Regions from separate parts of the Homo sapiens genome. Here all the other regions are linked to region 3. Evidence: promoter capture Hi-C in 16 types of primary human blood cells and fetal thymus (Javierre and others, 2016). All regions are on one chromosome and are shown on one strand. Each heading gives the region's core, a stretch centred on a gene start or on the middle of the fragment in contact. The rest is flanking DNA. Distances are from core to core; before and after follow the strand shown. Region 1 overlaps ZZEF1 (zinc finger ZZ-type and EF-hand domain containing 1). Region 2 overlaps ZZEF1 (zinc finger ZZ-type and EF-hand domain containing 1). Region 3 holds the start of CAMKK1 (calcium/calmodulin dependent protein kinase kinase 1).

Region 1 (3,080 bases), core at 30-2,529, 140 kb after region 3:
TACAGGCAAAGGAAAAAGCTTCCAAAGAGATCTATGCCTATATATCCGGAAGCCACAGAGGCTTTGGTGTGTATAGTGAAGACTGGAAGGGGTGACCAGGCCCTCAGGCCTTCAGAGTGTGGTACCTGGGGGAAGCCAACCAGCACGAGCAGGGTGAAGATGTTGGTGTGCTTCAGCTGGAATGGCAGCTGCTTGATGCAGTGGTCTGTGAAGGTGGCAATGACATCACGCCACAGTGGGGCACTGTTGAGTGACCGCAGGATCTCTGCCATGGAGCACGCCCAGTCCAAGCCCACCCGGCTGGAAGGCAAGAGCTCCATTAGGGGCAGTACACAGGGCTCCAAACTCAACTCGTTAGAGCTCACTACACTCCAAGGCAGACCCAGAAGCCTTCAAAGAGCCATTCATTAACTAGCTTAAAAACTACCAGAATAATGCTTTTCGTATAATGGTGAGTAAAAGAGCAAACAAAATCAAGACTTGTTACTTACATACTCACCCTACGGCTGTGTTTCCAAAAATATCTATAAAAATCACCTGTGTGTGTGCACATGCACACTCATATTCAAACACAGAAGAAAATGTAGTGAGACAGCACCAGATGTATTAAAATGGTGCAAGTCAGGGTGACTTTTTTCCTTCTTTTATTATTATTATTTTTTTGAGACGGAGTCTTGCTCTGTCGTCCAGGCTGGGGTGTAATGGCGCGATCTCTGCTGACCGTAACCTCCGCCTCCTGAGTTCAAGTGATTCTCCTGCCTCAGCTTCCGGAGTAGCTGGGATTACAGGCACACGCCACCATGTCCGGCTAATTTTCTTTGTATTTTTAGTAGAGACAGGGTTTCACTATGTTGGCCAGGCTGGTCTCGAACTCCTGACCTCGTGATCCACCAGCCTCAGCCTCCCAAAGTGCTGGGATTACAGATGTGAGCCACCGTGCCCAGCTTATTCCTTCATTTCTGTTTTCCAAATTTGGTGTTGTGGTTATGTTACTTTTACAACGAAAACAGATTTATTTGCTTCAACCTCAAGGCCCACACTTACCGCTCATTAAAAACAGAATATGCCTCATTAGAGAGTTGAATCAGCAGCCAGTGTCGAGACTGCTCAGCTGTTTTAACGTTGGTGTTAAGCACAGTTTTAATGTGGGTTGACAGCATTGCTCATGAACCTAATTCTATTTCCACAAAACTCTCAGACAACACAACTGTAGCACACCGAAATTAATCAACAGCCAGACCTTCAACTTAAACAAATAAACACCAAGGTGGGATAGAGGGCAGGTGGTTAGAGGAGCGAGGACCAAGGCTACCTGTCCAGACACACAGCTCCCAGGCTAAAGAGCAGGTGGGTGGTTTTCCAGCCATCTGGCACAATGGAACTGTCCCCTGCAGCAAACAGGTTGTGTTTGGCTGAGAGGACTTTGATCACTGCGGCGTCTACCTCTGCTGGCAAAAGACGGATAATTAACTGGCCGAGAAGACCCAGGGTGAGATGGTAGGTTTCATTCAGGTGGCCTGCGTTTGAGATGACAACCTGAAACATGAGTGGAAGGACGTGCTCCAGGTCTATCAGGGGAACCGTGGGGCCCTGCCAAGAGAGGGAGAGAAATCTGTTCAGTACAAAATCCACATAACCAAACTTGCTAAATATTATATCTCCCTCCTACCTTATTTACAGCTGGCCTAGTGCTAACGGAATCATGCTTGTAGCTTTCATAAATGCCATATGTATAATCACTTACAAAATAAACATCCTCAGCTCTCATCTTACAATCCTACTTCTAATATTTCTTTACCCTGAAAAAGAAACTTAAAATACTTGGTTTCCCCCTCACCTTTCAAAATGTCCATTGTAAAATAATTTAAATAATTCAGAAACACGCAAAAGTTAAAGCTCCCCTAAATCCCCTCCCTGCAACCATGGCCAGGAGATAACAACTGTTAAGTGTGATGAATAGTCTTTCAACCTTTTTCTATGCATATTTATTTACACATGATATATGTAAAATAGGCCAGGCATAGTGACTCACACCTGTAATCCCAGCACTCTGGGAGGCCAAGGCGGGAGAGTCACTCAAGCCCAGGAGTTCAAGACCAGCCTGGGCAACATAGTGAGACCCTGTATCTACAAAAAATACAAAAAATTAGCCAGGCATAGTGGTACGTGCCTGTAGTCCCAGCTACTTGGGAGGCTGAGGTGAGAGGATTGCTTGAGCCCAGGAGGTGGAGGCTGCAGTGAGCCATGGTCATGCCAACTGCACTCCTGCCTGGGTGACAGAGTGAGACTCCGTCTCAAAAAACAAACAACATGTCTGTGTGTGTATATATATATATTTGTGTATGTATGTATATGTAAAATAAATTTAAAATTTTAAATAGTTGTTTTTCTTTCTTTAAATAGTGTCTTGCAACTTATTAATACTTTGTTTCCAGTTCTTCATTATTATAAAAACCATTCAGCTAAACGGCCTGGTACAAACATTTCTATACTTATACCATTTGTTATTTTCCACAGGAAAAAAATGCACAAAACCGAAGAAAGCTTTTACAATGTCTGAGTTGTTATCCTCAGTGTGACTCAAGAGGGCACTATATCCATAGTATGAAAACAAAGCAATCAAAGAACAAAAAGTTCTTGGAAATAAAAAGTGATTCTCAAGAAGGCGTCTTTCTGACATGGCAGCCTGGGAGGGGTGTCACAGTCCAAGAACTCAGAAGGCATCTAGGCAGGGGGTTGGTCTGGTGGAGGCCACATGGTGTCAGAACCCAAGCAGGGTATGGAATTTCCATGGAGAAGGTCTGGCAGAGGAGTCAGAGCACAGGTGGCTGAGGAAGTCACCCAAGCCCAGGAATGCCCAGGCCTCTGGAGTTGGAGCTTGGGCTCCGAGTGAGGTGAGGAGGGCAAAAACGCAGAAGAGCAGCCTGATGTGAGTGTCCGAACCTAAGTGGAGAGGTGAGGGCATCTGCGCGGGGAGTTCACCCTCACACAGGGGCTCAGAGTCCAAACAGCATAAGGAGAGTGTTGCCACTGAGTAGCAGCCTGTTGCGGGTGAGGGTCGTCTCACTGCAAGGGGGCAA
Region 2 (2,891 bases), core at 171-2,670, 200 kb after region 3:
TTACCTTCTTACCTGCTTTTTACAAATTGCCTGAGCTCCTGAAGCTTCCATTTGTCATATTTTTCAAACCTTTTGAAGTGTTCTTCCGCACAAAATTTATCTGAAGATGAGTTATAGGCAAACACCAACCCACACTGGGCACCAATGCCACCACGTCGAACCTGGAAACAGAGATTAGGATGAAGTCTATCAAAGGGGCAAAAGTTCTGTGGCCGTTTTGTTTCCAGCATGGTTAAATTCAAACAGGTTAAAACAAAACGAGACCAATGAAAAATATTTCAAACATATTAAGCCCTCAAAAAATAAGAAAGCTGTTTCCCAAGAAATGTTCCTTAACTTTCTCAATCCTTATATTCTCACCATTTCAAAGACTTTACAGTCTATCCATCTTTGTGTCCCTGCCCTCTGCTACAGGCCTGACACAGAGTAAATCATCATTAAATGTTCAATGAATAACCAATGACATGGTCAGCCATAGGTCTGACTTTAAAAAAAAAAACCAAAACACCAATGACGTGGACTTCTGAAATGTAATAAAAGGTAATATTCAATAATAACCTAATTGTACATGGAAAAGTAACTACAACAGTGTAATGGATTGTTTATAACACAAAGACTAAATGCCTGAGGGGATGAATAGCTCATCCTCATCCTCTGTATGATTATTTCACATTGCATGCCTGTATCAAAACACCTCATGTACCCCACAAATATATATACCTACTATGTACCCATAAAAATTGAAAACAAAAGTAGTAACATTGCTTAAAGAAGGTAGCACGAAAATTACCATAATTCTTATCTGTGTAACTTGGAAGGCAGATTCAGTTCCGGTAGAAAAAATAGTGCTGGCTCTGGTTTTTCCAGTTTCCGTAAGAAAACCTGAAAAAAGGGAAAACTCAAGTTAGGGAACTAACCCATTTTTATAGCCCTAAGAACTAAGATCAACAAAAACAAACCATATCCTTTGAGTCATGGGGGGTAACTGGTCTGATATCTTCACGAAAATTAGAGAAAAATGTCCTCTTTGGACAGAGGCAACCCCGATGATAAAGCCCCAGGTAAGCAGAGAACTGACCAGGTTCAACTTTCCCAGGGCACAATCCCCTCCACCTCACAGGCAGCCCTGCTCTGAGGTAACAATAAGAAAATAAATGTTTAGGCCGGGCACAGTGGCTCACGTCTGTAATCCCAGCACTTTGGGAGGCCGAGGCGGGTGGATCACGAGATCAGGAGACGGAGACCATCCTGGCTAACACGGAGAAACCCCGTCTCTACTAAAAATACAAAAAATTATCCAGGTGTGGTGGCGGGCGCCTGTAGTCCCACCTACTCGGGAGGCTGAGACAGGAGAATGGCGTGAACCCGGGAGGCGGAGCTTGGAGATTGTGCCACTGCACTCCAGCCTGGGCAACAGAGTGAAACTCCGTCTCAAAAAAAAAAAAGAAAAAGAAAAAGAAAAAGAAAAGAAATGTTTATAAAACATTTAAGCCAAAGCGACAAAAGACTGGACAATCAATCATCTTCCTGAGCCACACCTACAACCATGGCTGATGGCTGCCTGGGCTGATAAAGCCTACTGGCTTAGTGGCTGAGAAAGGGATTAGTTAGCTTCTACAACACTTTGTCAGGAAAGGTTATGAAAGGCTTTGAAATGGGAAAAAAAAAAAAAAAAAAAAAAAAGAATCACTGGGTGTCCTAGCCAACATACCCTTTCGGTCGTCTCTGCCTTTTATGGTCTCTAAACTATTTTACAATTCTGTAAGTTGTAGAACACTGGTAGTGATGCACATGATTCTTGTCCACAGAACTAAACACTGTGTTCTGTGGAAATGTTGCTGATTATTCCTTATGGATACTGACCAACATTCTATCTATTTGTAAATTAATTTTAGCATTCTTGTTAGTCTACATGTATTTTATGAATTCTCCTTAGAACTGTTTGTAACATCTTACTGGTTCCCTCATTAATTAATGAGCTAAATAAAAAGTCTGGGCCAGGCACAGTAGCTCATGCCTGTAATCCCAGCACTTTGGGAGGCTGAGGCCAGTGGATCACTTGAGCCTCAAAACCAGCCTGGGCAGCACAGTGAGACCCCATTTCTACCAAAAAAAAAAAAAAAAAAAGCAAAAATCAAGGTGGGTGTGGTGGCTCACACCTATAATCCCAGCACTTTGGGAGGCTGAGGCAGGCAGTTCACTTAAGGTCAGGAGTTCGAGACGAGCCTGGCCAACATGGTGAAAACCCCATCTTTACTAAAAACACAAAATTCGCCGGGCGTGGTGGCACACACCTGTAATCCCAGCTACTCAGGAGGATGAGACAGGAGAATCGCTTGAACCCGGGAGGCGGAGGATGCAGTAAGCTGAGATCTCACCATTGCACTCCAGCCGGCCTGGGTGACAGAGTGAGACTCCAACTCAAAAAAAAAAAAAAAAAAAAATCAGCTGGGCACGGTGGTGCACACCTGCAATCCTAGCTACTTGGGAGGCCAGGGTGGGAGGATCGCTTGAGCCTGGGAGGTGGAGGTTGCAGTGAGCTATCATCACAACACTTCACTCCAGTCTGGGCAGTAGAGTGAGACCCTGTCTCAAATGAATGAATGAATGAATAAATAAATTAAAGTAAATAAATTAAAAGTATGAATGTGTTCACTTATATTTGTATGACAGTCACTATTTTCCTTTTTTGATTGTTGGTAATTATCCTTTAACAACTCATGAAAAAGTCTTCTGCTAGACCCAAGGTTGCCTTTCTCTTTCAAACGTCTCTAAATGATATAACTCAGCAATAAATAAGCTTTTTTTTCTGGGACTCTGAATTTTCTTAACAATTCTGCCTATCAAAATGACAAGACTAAAACCAATTTCATGCTTCCTGTTTCATTACA
Region 3 (2,832 bases), core at 174-2,673:
AAGAGGAGTTACATCTGGAGAGAAAGCCCCCTCACTCATTGTGCTGGCCTCAGGGATGGCTTCCTAGAGGAGGTGGCACCTGAGCTCTCTTCTGAGCACTGAGCAGGATTTCAGGATGAGGCGAGGATGGAAGTTTGCACTGTGCATATAGGAGAGTCATTTCCTGGCTGGGACTCCGGGCTTGGTTTGGGGGTGGGGAGAGCTTGGTGGACAGAGCCCAGGAGGCCCCCAAAGCCAGGGGGAGGTTGTGAGCAGGGGAGTGCCTCGGTTAGGTGAGGTTTAAAACGACTCCCATGGCTGCTGTGAGGACTGACGGTGGGAGACCGAGGAAGAGGCGAAGGGTCCCCAGAGTGTGTGCGCCTGGGACGCAGTGGGGGGTCAATTTGTATGTACTGGAGGAAAGAGGGCAGGGCTTGGGGAGGCCAGCGCCACTTCCCTGGGATCCTCCAGCGCGCACAGGCTGTGTGCCCCTCCCACACTCCTGTGCCCGCCCTGCGGACACCACCAAGGCCCGGTCCTGTGGCCTGTGACACAGCCTTCTCTGCACAGCCCTGCAACGCCAAGACTTGAGCACACCCCCTCCCCTGACAGGCACACGCCCGTGTCCGCGTGACCCGCCCTCACACACCACTCCATCCTGTCCTGCACCCCCCACGCAGACACAGGCACACTCCCGCGTCCACGTGACACACGCACACCCGCCTCCAAACAGCACACGCAGGTCCCTGCGCACGTGGACACCCCCCCAGCCACCAGCCCTGCGCCTCCCGGGCCCCGAAGCCGCAGCGCCCGCCTCTGCCGCCCCCTCTCGCCCCAGCCAAGGCAGGACCCTGCGCAGCCTGAGCCGCGCGCCGCCGCCGCCCCATTCATCTCCCACCCCGCCCCCGGCTCCTGCAGGAAGACGCTCCGGCGGGCCGTGGGAGGAGCGCTCCGCGGAGAACCGCACGTGGGTGCCCCGGGCCGGGCCCACTCCGCACAGACGTGGCCTCCACCAGGAGCCGGGCGCGGGGGACAGTGCACCGGGGATGGATGCGGTCCGCAGACAGAAGCGGGGAAGAACGCAGACGGCGGGGCACCCGCGGCGATGCGGTCCCGGCGGCCGGCGCAGACCCGAGCAGACTCCGCGAGGCACCCCGCAGACCCGGCCCCGCAGACAGAAGGGGAAGGATCCCCGCCCTGACCAGATCCCAGCTCCCTCGTAGACGCGGCCTGGCAGACCCCCCCCGCCTCTCCCTTGCAGGCTCGGGGCAGGTGTTAAGGCGTTCGTCCTCCTGCTCCTCGCCCGCGTCCCCGCCCCGCCGATCCCTACCTGGGCGCCGGGCGACAGTGTCCGCGGCCCGGCGGGCGGCCCCACTCGCTCCTGCTGCGCGCCCCGCCCCGCCCCGCCCCGCCCCACCGCCTCGCTGGGGCCCAGATCGCCGAGCTCAGCCCGCGGGCGCCGCGGCTCCGGGCAGCGCTCGCTGCCCCGCCCACCGCCGCGCCCGGCCGGCGCTCATTGGTCGGAGCGAACGGCCCCGCCAGCGCCGCCCAATCGGAGCCCGGGACTCCCGCCCCCTCCTGGACTAAGGGACCGCGGTGGGCGGCGCGGTAGGGGCCCTCCCTCCCCTGCGGCGGGGCCGACCTCGCCACGCCCCCGGCGTCCTGGGGTCCCCGAAGTCCCTCCCGGCCGCGGCGTGGGCCCTTCTCCTGGGCCTGCAGGGGACCGTGCTTCCCCGCCAAACCCTTTGCGCCCCCATCCCGGCCTGCAGGAGCCAGAGCGCCCCTCCCTCCCGGGCGAGGCGCGGTGCGTGCGAGGGAGGGGCGAGGCCCGGGGAGGAAGGCCTTGAATGGCAGGCCCAGGAGTGTAGCTTCTGCGGGGCGGGGGCAGAGAGGCCGAGAGGTGGCTTAGCACAGAGTGAAGTGCTTGCTCGGTGAGCCGGCGACAGGAATGGCCTAGCGAGGGCCGAGGGAGTAGAGGGAACTCAGCAGGACAGTGAGGTGACCTTCGCTGTGGCTGTTCCTGGGGACTCTGCCGCCACCTCTTCCCCTAACGCCTCCGCGTGTGAATCCTCTGGCACCACCACTTGCCCCATATCCTTCCCCCAAATCTAACCTCCTGCGTCCCTGTCTCGAAGTGGAGCCAGGAGCCTGGGAGTCACCTGCTGCCTCCCTGTTTCCTGCTCCAACCAGTCCATCTCCAGGCCCTGCCATACTGCCTCTTAACTATCCCTGGAATCGGCCCACTCCTCTCCACCCCACTTCCCCTCCCTTAGCTCAGGCTACCACCATCTTGTCCCTGATTGCTGCAGCAGCCTCCTCCCTGGCCTCCAGCCCCATCCAGTCTCACCTCCTACTAGCCTTTCTCTCCCTGGCACCCAGAGCAAGTTTTCAGGAACACAAGTCCACCGAGAGGCATTTTCTATGGCTCACCGTGAGAATAGGTCTAATCAAGCCCTGTATAGCCTTACTCCCAGCCACCTGCCTGTTTAACGCCTACTCGTCTTTCAGGGTTCAATTCAATCCTACTTCTGCCTGGAAACCTTCTCCATGACCTCCCCACTTCCAGCATGGGTTAGTGGCCCCACCCAGGTACTTCCTTGTACCTGGCATCTGTTTACCTGCTGGTTCCTCATTGGGACTGGGAGCTCCTGGATGGCAAGCACTGTGCCTGATTCGTCCAGCACACAGCCTGTCGCATGGCACAGGTGCTCAGTGGATGTTGTTGAATGAATAATTCCAGCAACTTGAGTGTGGCTTTTGACCTCATGGTTCAGGATACCAGCTAGAGCTCCAGCAATCACATAACGCATTCCAGGCAGTGGAGTGGAGAAAAGGATGAAGAAGAGGGCAGAG

The links. Contacts are between HindIII fragments. The CHiCAGO score rates a contact against its expected background, and 5 or more counts as called.
Region 1: a contact is called between a fragment that was not itself captured here and the fragment with the promoter of CAMKK1 in region 3, in 4 of 17 cell types (megakaryocytes, erythroblasts, M0 macrophages and 1 more). The highest score is 6.5, in megakaryocytes.
Region 2: a contact is called between a fragment that was not itself captured here and the fragment with the promoter of CAMKK1 in region 3, in 1 of 17 cell types (megakaryocytes). The highest score is 6.2, in megakaryocytes.

The regions. Positions count from the first base shown.
Region 1 is chr17:4,032,703-4,035,782 of GRCh38, forward strand. It overlaps ZZEF1 (zinc finger ZZ-type and EF-hand domain containing 1), which reads right to left. Exons shown (of 55, transcript NM_015113.4): 40 at 1,313-1,590; 41 at 126-300. Among named protein-coding and RNA genes, the nearest start is that of LINC01975, 57 kb to the left of the region's middle. The HindIII fragment of the contact is 2,526 bases long and covers 17-2,542 here.
Region 2 is chr17:4,095,819-4,098,709 of GRCh38, forward strand. It overlaps ZZEF1 (zinc finger ZZ-type and EF-hand domain containing 1), which reads right to left. Exons shown (of 55, transcript NM_015113.4): 10 at 791-882; 11 at 13-161. Among named protein-coding and RNA genes, the nearest start is that of ZZEF1, 46 kb to the right of the region's middle. The HindIII fragment of the contact is 2,756 bases long and covers 43-2,798 here.
Region 3 is chr17:3,891,630-3,894,461 of GRCh38, forward strand. CAMKK1 (calcium/calmodulin dependent protein kinase kinase 1) reads right to left here and starts at 1,424. Exons shown (of 16, transcript NM_032294.3): 1 at 1,310-1,424. RefSeq lists silencers at 731-980, 1,121-1,300, 1,331-1,870. The HindIII fragment of the contact is 22,194 bases long and covers 1-2,832 here.